Regions from separate parts of the Homo sapiens genome. Here region 2 is linked to region 1. Evidence: promoter capture Hi-C in human tissues and cell types (Jung and others, 2019). All regions are on one chromosome and are shown on one strand. Each heading gives the region's core, a stretch centred on a gene start or on the middle of the fragment in contact. The rest is flanking DNA. Distances are from core to core; before and after follow the strand shown.

What was found. The method cuts DNA at HindIII sites, captures the fragments that hold promoters and counts their contacts. A contact is called where the count stands out against the background at its distance.
Region 2: a fragment that was not itself captured here is called in contact with the fragment with the promoter of DACH2 in region 1 in 1 of the 25 tissues and cell types used here (thymus).

Annotation. Positions count from the first base shown.
Region 1 is chrX:86,144,907-86,150,708 of GRCh38, forward strand. DACH2 (dachshund family transcription factor 2) reads left to right here and starts at 3,545. Exons shown (of 12, transcript NM_053281.3): 1 at 3,545-4,202. The coding sequence starts at 3,715. The HindIII fragment of the contact is 5,915 bases long and covers 1-4,977 here.
Region 2 is chrX:86,943,768-86,948,894 of GRCh38, forward strand. No RefSeq gene overlaps it. Among named protein-coding and RNA genes, the nearest start is that of KLHL4, 570 kb to the right of the region's middle. The HindIII fragment of the contact is 3,098 bases long and covers 879-3,976 here.

The sequences.
Region 1 (5,802 bases), core at 2,295-4,794:
CTGATCTGAAAACCAGTCCCTTCAAATAGTTCTGGATATTTTGCAGTGCTGCATAAGCATGCCAATATATGTATTTTTAATTTTTAGTTAAAATGGTACCTGCATTTTACTGACAGTGTCAAAGTAGAATATTTTGCCTAAAATCACAGATGAGCACCCTCCCCTCCAAACTGAGTATGAATTAAGATAAAATGTAAATTGTTAATTAAGTCATGGAAGTTTACAGCATTTCAGTGTATGGGAAACTACACTTAGGCCCCAAATCATTCCACTGGAATTAGAACTTCTTCTGATGAGATATGGTACCTGCTTATACTAATTTTGTCGTTATTTGTTGCGGTGGTTGGCTCCTGTCTTGTATTAATTCACAAACCTTGAGTATTTTCTTAGTTTTAATGCAGTGCCTCTCTCCATAGAGAGTCATCTCCCAAGGGTACTCTGTTTACTGCCACCTTTTTATGATTTTATATTGCATCAAGCAATTCCAAACTTACAGGGTGTTGATGTGAAAGGCTTCCTCTGGTCTTGTAGAAACCTAGCCCTGTTTAGAAGTATGTTTGGCTTATGGAAGACATTAAAATCAGAAAGGGACAAAAACAAACCCTCTGTGTAAAATTGATTGTCTCAATCTCAAAGCACTGATAGTAATAGTAGAAATAGTAGTGATAAAAAATAGAATAATCAAAAAGTCAAGAAAAAAGGAGACAAAACCTGCTCTCTTAGATCTAAACGACTAAATGTTTAAATTGCATGTGTTACTTAAGAACGCTACCAAGTTTATCTAGAAGACTGCAATGAGAAGGAATTCAAATAATGAAACCGAGGGTCTTTTGCGTGTTGAAAACTTCCAAAGAACTTTAACCTTTCAATGATCAATGGCCAATTTGAGTCTCTAGTATTTCTGCTAGAAATAGAACCGTAATCTTTAGTAATAATTAAAATATTACTGTAAACCTGATACATCTCATTAAACACATGACTTTTAATTTGTGCCTTTTCTAAAGTTGTCAAAGTATGTCTGTTCTTCAATTTCACAATTACTGATTACAGCATGAATGAATAATCTGCCTTTCTTTTTTTATATTTCAGATTTCTTAAATTTGAAACATCAAAATATCTGTGCAATGTTTTATTGCTGAAAACCCCAAATTGCTCTGCAAATAAAAAGGCCTTGATAATGTGGGCACAGCTACATACAAGGGGTAGCTTGGCCTTAGGATTTTTAACGTAATTAGAGCCATTTGAAAATAAAACATCCTTTACAGCCAAACTTATTCACCTGGAAATTTCAATCACAATAAGTTATCAGAGGCAAGCTATTTCAACAGATAGTTTAACAGCCATTTCAGTCAAAACACCTGTTGAATACAATTTGGGATTTCTCTTTTTAAAAACTGGTAAATACAAACATTTCTGTCAGTGCTGTTTTATTCTTTTTTGATACTTCTACTTTTGGTTGAGGCGTTTTCTGCCTTTGCTATTTCTTCTCAATTGTCCTTTTTTTGCCCCTTATTACTTTCTTCCCACAACAGTATCGATGTAGCAAAAACATTTTGATGCCTTTTAAAAATGTCTCGTGGCTGCCTATATCCCAATCTATTATGTTAGAGTCATATCACTGCATTTTGAAAGCAATGATCATCACAACTTCTTAGCATTTTAACCCTGTACAATTTGAAATTGAAACAGTATGAAGAGATTCAAAGGGCAGTTCTTAAACCTGGTTGATGAAATGAGAAAAGAAGAAAATATGTTGTAGAAAGAGGCAGAAAAATCCAATTTAGGGTATCTGTAACTAAATAAGGGAGCAAAAAGAACCCACACATTTCTCGTTGATCCTGCTAAGTACAACTAGGGCTGAATAAAATTCAGTAAGTTTCCAACATTATTTATATTTTAGAAGAATATCAGAGAAGTTACCATAAGCCATGTAGTTGGTAACGTTTTGTAAAGAAACGAAACCTGGATTTCACTTTATGAATAACTAACAGCCTCCAGAGAAGAGGAGCACAGGAAAGGAAATATCTTGGTTTTAGAGAATGAATAGCTTGACAAGGAGTCTTAAAACAACTTTGCTAGGCCAGGAGCGGTGGCTCACGCCTGTAATCCCAGAACTTTGGGAGGCCGAGGAGGGCGGATCACGAGGTCAGGAGTTCGAGACCAGCCTGGCCAATATGGTGAAACCCTGTCTCTACAAAAAAAAAAAAAAGTATGTATATGTGTGTATATATATGTATATATATGTATATGTGTGTATATATATATGTATATGTATACATAAATTAGCCAGGCATGGTGGCGCGCACCTGTTGTCCCAGTTACTCGGCCGAGGCAGGAGAATCGCTTGATCCCCGGAGGCGGAGGCTGCAGTGAGCCGAGACTGTGCCACTGCACTCTAGTCTGGGCGACAGAGTGAGAATCTGTCTCAAAACAAACAAAAACAACTTTGCTAAGGCGATCTAACCACCATATGCTGTGTGGAAAAGACCATTCCTTTTCCCTGGAATGTACCCTGCTTAGACATTTTGTTCTATAAGCTCTTAGTACGTTTGGGACGCTTGATGAGTGGGGGAAGTGGAATCTTGTTTAGGACTGGAGCTCCAATCACTGGACCTTCAAAGCCAATGGAAGAGGAAGGAAAATGCACGTTCAAGAATGCAAACCCTCGCCCTTTCCTCATATTCCGTGATGACTGTTTTGAGTCCTAAACAAACATTTCCTATCAATTTTAGCGGGGAGTAGGGCCAGGGCAATCTCGACACTAAGGGACGGGGACACAGACAAGTCTCTTCCAGGACAGTGGCGGAAGTGCCATAAAATGAGGTGTCCATCTGCCACCCACAGAGCAAGTCTCTCTGTTTCCCAAAGTGTTCACAGGCTCACTACGCTTCCTGAATGTCAGTGCGAGTTAGCAACCAGAACTCTGATCTGAGTATGATCTCGGACGCTTGTTCCTCTGCGCGCTGGGTAGGGGAAAATTTACACCAAGCGCACTTAGGTGGGCTAAAGGGCTGAGCTGTTTACTTCTGAACTCGCTAGCGTCTTTCTCCCGGAAGCTAGGCGAAGCCATCTATTAGCCCCCGCAGAGTTTGGGAGAGATGCGCAAGTGGAATTGGAGCTGCCACCTCACTTTCCACGATCTAACCCGGTGTAAGGTGGCGGAAGGGGCATGGGGAGGCACGTTCAGGAGTCGCGCTTTGCGTTTCCACCCCGACACCAGCGGAGCGCGGAGCGGATGGGTTCACAGCATAGGCCACTTTGAGAACTCTGCGTGACATCTGGGAGTTCTCTCGTCTGGCAGAGAGGCAAGAAGCAGAGGCACCACACCGCCCCCTTCTCGGACTGGATCTCTGTTCTTGGTCGAGCCTGGACCCACTCAGGTAGTCGGACGCCGGCCAGGGAGTCTCCACCTCCTCACCAGCGGCAGCCATTCGGAGCGCTCGGGCGCAGAAGGGCTGGGGCCCATTGGCTGTGGGACGCTGCCAGTCTCCGGAGGGGGTGTGGTGGGGGTGGGGTCTGGGGCCGCAGCGGGTCGGGGCTGCTCACTGTTTGTTGAGCTTGAGCGTGAGCCGGCTGCTGAAGACTTGCGAACAGTTCGGAGCCAGCGAGAGCGCGCCAGAGAGAGCGAGAGTGAGGGAGTGAGTGCGAGGGGATCTAGAGGAGTCAGGGCGAGAAAGCGAGGGCCGGAGGACCCACGATAGAGACAGAGTGACCATGGCTGTCTCCGCATCTCCAGTGATCTCTGCAACTTCCAGCGGCGCCGGCGTCCCGGGGGGCTTATTCCGGGCCGAACCCCTGTACTCGACTCCCAGAGAGCCCCCTCGTCTTACTCCTAATATGATCAATAGTTTCGTGGTTAATAACCACAGCAACAGTGCCGGAGGCGGCGGCAGGGGCAACACCAACACCAACGAGTGCCGCATGGTCGACATGCACGGGATGAAGGTGGCTTCGTTCCTGATGGACGGCCAGGAACTGATCTGCCTGCCGCAAGTCTTTGATCTTTTTCTCAAGCACCTGGTGGGAGGCTTGCACACTGTGTACACCAAGCTGAAGAGACTGGATATATCCCCCGTGGTGTGTACTGTTGAGCAGGTCCGGATCCTCCGCGGGCTGGGGGCCATCCAGCCCGGGGTAAACCGCTGCAAACTCATCACCAGGAAAGACTTCGAAACTTTGTTCACCGATTGCACCAATGCCAGGTGAGACACTCGTTTCTTGGCTCTCCCACTTCTCTTACCCCTTTGGCCTCTTCTGCATGCCTCACCACCCTCATCCAACTTTGTTTGTAGAGTGAGTCTTAACTAGTTTGCCTCTATTCTTCACGCTGTAAATCGGTGGGGAAAGAGGACTAGAAGCTTTCATTAATGCTGGTGCCTTCTAGTCCACGCTCAGTGCAAGGGCTTCGGTCTAAAAAAGTCCCGCAAACTTGAGTTTGCAGTCCTCTATTGAAACTTTCCAGCCTTTTGCCCATATCTTGCATGGCTTTTGGCTGTTCGTGGTTATTTGTTAATTTCTCTATTTGGTTTTCTTTCCTGCTCTTTTGTGGCCGCACGGGTCGGATAGGTTTTCTTCTGAACACGGATACCAAGGGCTTTCTCTGGGGGCTGGCTGAGCTGTAAACTGGGCTCCTAAGCTGGCAAGCCAGAACACAGCATTTGGGGCATGCAGGGGGTGGGAAGTCTAGAATCCATCCCAGAGGGTGATTCGATCCCCATCCCGTGTGTTTGTTGTGAGAATGTGTGGGGTGTGTGGTGTTGTTGTTTGTGGTGGTGTTGGTGTGTATGTGTGCAAGTGCGCGTGAGAACGTATGCTCATGCTTGCTGCGCAAAGCTCCCCAGTACACGATACAGGAAAGTCGATGGATACTATTTTTACAAAAGGACGACGACAAATATCACTTTCCTGGGATCGTCCGTTTTGGGTTATCTGCAGAGGGCAATGTGGGGCATGAACCACTGTGGCTGGGACTGGATTGGAGGTTGGTGTACAAGTTGGCAGATTTCTAGAGAGGATGCTCTCAGCTCTTCCAGGCGAACAGTTGGAAGGATCCCATTCCCTTAAAGACAGGATTCCTTAAATGATGATGGCCAGCTTCCCTGGTTGTAAGTGTACCTCCTTCATATCACAGTTTAGAAGTACACTAGTGAATAAATGTCCATTTGTATATGAGAAGCAAATTGTGTTCAATGTTTCTGAGTTTAAAAAGAAAAAAAGTATACTCAAGATTATCTGACTTTTTAAACGCCTGTGAATTAGTCTTCTAGTGTTTATTCCATCTCCAGTTTGGTAACATCTCAGGAAAGCACAGATTTGGCACAAAAATCACCATCACGTGGTTAAAAGGAGCAAAGGATTTTGTTGTAAAACAGCACTACTGCTTATTATTTTGCAAAAATAAAATAAAAAACCAACAACTTTCTCAAAATGAACTTTAAATCATAAAATCTCTGGGTCTGTGAACTAAAACTGTAACAGTTTGCCACATCTGTTGTAAAATCCAAATTGCCATGTATAGTTGAATGATACTGACAACTTGTAGGCAAACTGTTGCTTACTGCTGCAATAAGATAATGCTGCAGAACTTACAAGGGAAGCTTTTTCCTTCTTCTTTTTTTTCTTCAATTGAGCAGTGTTTTTCTGTGTTCAAGCAATTAAACAGAAAACTATTTATGTGAGAACTCCTACCTGATTCATATTTAGGGCTTACAAAGCTGGTTTATTATATCAGCTTTTCTTAAGGAAGATAGATGGCCTGAAAACACAAAGGATAACAGCTCCCTCAATAAAACAGGCAATTAT
Region 2 (5,127 bases), core at 1,178-3,677, 800 kb after region 1:
TGTGAAATATTCATTCAAACAGGGTTTGGCTAGTCCTTACTCTGTGATAGGATCTGTGCTATCATTTAAGAATGTCATGATAAGAAACAGCACTTTTGGTCAGGTAACTTGTGTTCTAATAATGGAAGTGAACAAAAAGGCAAAACTTTTCAAGTAGAATGCGAATGCAGTTGACGGTTTGTTCAACAAATTACTAGATGTCATAAAAAACAGGAATAACTTCACAAAAGAAGTGACATTTAAGCTGAGCATTTAAAAATGATAGGGGTTTAGAAAACATCAGCAAAAATATTAAAGGGACTAAGTAGTTTTAACAGAGTAATGCAAGGGTAGAAATAATGGCTGTTTTCAGATATTCAAATGGTGATTATGCATAAGACAGTCTTGATCTGTATTATTACGCTTTGGCTATATTGAGTTGAGGTTCCTGTATGAAATTCTAATGTAGATATTTAGTAGGTTGTTAAATATACAGCGCTGGAGTTCAATAGTGTTGTTCTTAACAACAATGAAGACGTTTCTCATTCATTAAAAATAATTGAGGGTCTACTATGGGTCCAGTACTTTAAAAAATATTGAAACGTATTGTTTTGTTTTATCTTCACAGCACGCCTATGTGGTAGCTATTATTGTTCTCATTTAACATATGAGGAAACTGAGGTATAGAGAGAGACATGAAAGTAGTCATCAGTGGTAGATGAGACATGATGCAGGTGAGATTATTTAAGCTAACTGGTAAACTCACAGCACCATCGAATAGAACTTTCTTCAATAGTAAAAATACTCTATAATCTGCCTTGTCTTATACAGGAGTCATTAGTCATATGTTGGTATTGAGCACTTAAAATATGGCCAGTGTGACTGAGGAATTTAATATGTAATTATATTTATTTTAGTTAATACAATTTAAATTGGGACAGACGCTTGTGGCTAGTGACTACTGTACTGGACAGGGCAGGTAGAGTAGGGGGAGATAGGGTTGTGTTAGAACTTAGAGGATGTCAAACTGCTAAGAGATGGGTAGGGGATTAAATCATTTGAAGGATACCTTTGGCCATCTCAGACTAAAGTAACTTATTTATCTGCAAACCTTTTCACCCATCTGCCTTCCACTTTGTTCATTTTGGACATAACATACACTGCCTGCTTGGTTCGCAACTAATCACAACATAATCATTAGCAAATATAATGCAGAAAACATTTTTAAACTTTGAACCTTGTTCAGTGCATAATATACTGTTAGTAATCTAAGAATCATTTCTACTTGATTGATTTGTTTTTGGTCTGAATCTGTTTGCAATCAGTTTTTGGAAGCAATTTAGCTTTTATATATTGACAATTTGGGTCTGAGTAAGAGAACAAGAATCTCAAAAAGTACAGAAATTGTATTCAAGGTAAATAAACAGTGGTGGAGTACAGACAGCTATATATGCTCTTAAAATTTTTAAAAATGCAAATCTTTAAGTAACGTCAAAATCTTTCAATATTATGAATAATAATATGACAAATTTTGGTAGACTACATTAATTTCAGTGAGAATTATTATTTAATACACACACAATTGCAGTTTTTTGAGGCAGTATTTTTTACCCGTTGGTATTTTGTTATTGCTACTCTGCAGTGATTCATAAAAATAATCATATTCCTCATCACTTTGTTGGAATTTCTATCTTGCAATTAACAAAGGGCAAAGAGCCCTTTTTTGAATTTTTTCCCATGGAGTTCCAGAAATTAAACTTACATTCACAGTACCACCTTATGCTGGTCAGGGGAACAGCTGGTCTAGGTTTTATTATGATTTACTGTTAGTTAATAAAAAAACTATTGCTGTTTTCCTGAGTTTAAAACCTCAAAACTGAAAACTAAACCCACACATAGTTTGCTGGAATTAAATTGTGACAAGAGAAGAGCTGCAGGAGTGTGACAAACCTAATGCGAACACTCTTACCCTACCATGTAAGAGTGAGAGTATCCAACTACTGTGTGTTGAAGAGAACAAATTGTTTTTATTATAATAGGAACACAATTTTAGACCAACTCTATATGTACTCTTTATTTGTGGTTAGTCTATACAAATTGGAAGATGTAAACACTTTACAAATATGTCTTTGTGAAGCCTAATGATAAACTTGAACATAATGATAGACTCTTAAGAAAAATTATACTCAATTTGGATGGCAAATTAGATCTTTCTGTCTATGCCTTCTCAACACTGATTACCCCAGTGGGAAGAAAGTTAATCTGAAGTTTTTGTTTATATGACCAATACATGACCATTTGTGCAAATATTAGTTTTAAGTTATTTGGGATCATATATCATTACCCAAGTTTCAAGGAGATAACAATTATAAAAACATCTGGACTGAGAATGAAAGCTTCTCAGCCCTAGTCTTGATTTTGCCATAAACTGGATATGCGAACACAGCTAATAATCTGAACATTTTTTGGATCAAATCTCATTCTAAAATGAGGGAGTTGGACTACTGGATAATCTTTAGGGTGTCTTCTGGCACTCTGAGTGTGTCAGAGATCATATTTGGTAATTATTAATACAGAAAATTCAACTTAGTGAACTGTACCACCAGGCTTTTCCAGAAGTAATATTATGTGATGGCTAAAATACTGAAGGCAAATTTTCTTCTGGCTACCACACATATGGGTTCTACTAACTGGAGCAATAGCTTAGGCTTTGATTCTAAGACAGTACCAAAACCAGTTTAAAATTAACTATCCCATTGTCATGCTCAGCTAGAGAAAAAAAGGCTGGCAAACCAGATTTACTAGTTTCTTTCTCTACAAAAAAAAATTGACAAATTACATAAGTTGCATGATTACAGAAATGTTAGCTAAAATTGAAAGTTAAAAACAGAAATTAAGACCAGAAATACCATTGTCCCATCCATTTAAAAAATAGAATGAATAAAAAACTTTGACATTCTTAAAGGAAACAAAATGTGAAGTGGAATAAGTGAGAGCAACACTACACAGAAGAATGTTGCTACACTGCCGCTTAGTGGTAGCCATGTGAAACTAAGTTGAGTGAAGATGAGTCAAAAACTAGTCTATTAATGAATTACTGGTAGCTCTTACTTCAGAGAATAGGTTAATTCTAGTAGTGTTGCATAAAACAAAGTTAGATCAAGAGGACAGTATTTTACCAGTGTTTGAGTTATAAAACTAAAAATATAGTCTCATGGAAAGTGCTTTGGCAAGTGGACATAAAATTATAATTAAGAATGAAACATAATTTAAGTATTTTCAAAGGAAAATAAGTCTTAAAGCAACAAAATAAACATCTTCTACTCAAAAGTCACAAAACTATAACAGTGAAGTAAACATGCAAAATGTAACTGTAATTTTTACCTCAAAATATTTATTTCCAACATGCAGGCAATAATCTGTGAAATAAAGATAGCTAAAAATATTTTTTTACCAGAGTCTTTAACTTGTTTCATATCTCCTTAACACTATTTTTATATATAAAATATTTACATTGATTTATTGCACACTTTAAGACTTAAAGCTTACTGATATATCTGTAGTGTATGTATATCTACTGATTCTTGTTTACACATACCCAATTCACCCTTTCTAATTACCAGGAAGTCATGATACTCAATATAGAAATTATAGGACCTCCTCAAAATGTTACCAAAGTGGTTGACTCAAAATGTGAAGGTATGAAAGAGGTCATAATGTTAAGTGTAATTGTATTAGTCCGTTCTCACATTGCTATAAAGAACTGTCTGAGACTGGGTAATTTATAAAGAAAAGAAGCTTAATTGCTCATGGTTCTGCAGGTTGTACAGGAAGCACGGCTGGGGAGGCCTCAGGAAACTTACAATCATGGTGGAAGGCAAAAGGGAAGCCAGCAAGTCCTACATGGCTGGAGCAAGAGGAATAGAGAGCAAAGGAGGAAGTGCTACATACTTTTAAACAACCAGATCTCATAAAAACTCAGTCACTATCATGAGAACAGTAAGGGAAAAATTCACCCCTATGATCTAATCACCTCCCACCAGGTCCCTCCCCCAACACTGGGGATTTCAATTCAACATGAGATTGAGGTGGGGACACAGAGCCAAACCATATCAGTAATTTACTGAAATGTTTTGACATTGCATCTAAGATGTCAAAACATAATAGAAAAAATAAATAAATTGATTGATTAAAAAGCTTATAAATAAAAAGAAAAGAAAGAGTCTATTTTTTGTCTGGCCACAAAGTTTCAAAAACAAGAGCCTGGACTTGGCAGCAGATATGTCTGCTGCTCTGTGGGAAAAATGTAGAGCATTGTAAAAAAAAAAAAAAAAAAAAAAGTAAAGCATTGTTTGAAAGTAATTAGAGACGAGAGAGAGAGAGAGAGAGAGAGAGAGAGAGAGAGAGAGAGAGGGAGAAAGTATCCTGAAAGCATTATATTCCCTCGTTTGAGTCAGGTTCAAATTTTGGACATGTGGCTTCAACACATTTTTTGGATTATGTGAATTATACCAGTTTCTAGCTAATAACTCTACTTATTTTTTTAAAGTTTGGGCTAGATTACTGTTGCTAGCTTTTTTGACTCATTCTGAAGTATGTAGTGTATATATGCTATTTTATGTCTATTATCAATTCTAGTTCTGATAATAATCACCCTTACTCCAACAGAAGTGGATCTGTAGCCCCAAATAGTTTGAGAATGTTTATTTACTGAATTTTTGAAACTGTTTTTCTCTATGTTTACAAAGTTGTGAGGTTAGCCTAGAAGCTGCCTAAGATTATCCTCCCTTCCATACAGGCAAGAGATTCCTAAAACCATTTGAAGTGCTAAATCCAGTTATCCTTAAGACAAGATCTTCCAGTGACCTAATCACAACTTGCTTAAGTTACTTTAAGTTAGGTTTCTGTTACAGCAATCAAAGGAATCCTTAATAAATGGAGCCTTCTGACTGATAACATAAAATTTTGCTCAAACATCTTGAAGGGAAAGAGTTAATATAGCATGTATATTATATGAAACAGCTCATTTGTGCTTAAGAATGATTAGCTTCAATCTGTGGGGAAAAATATGGCAGATTTCCTTTTTATTTCAATCAACTAAAAATATGACACTGATATTTAATCCAGAACTGAACACAATAGCTACGA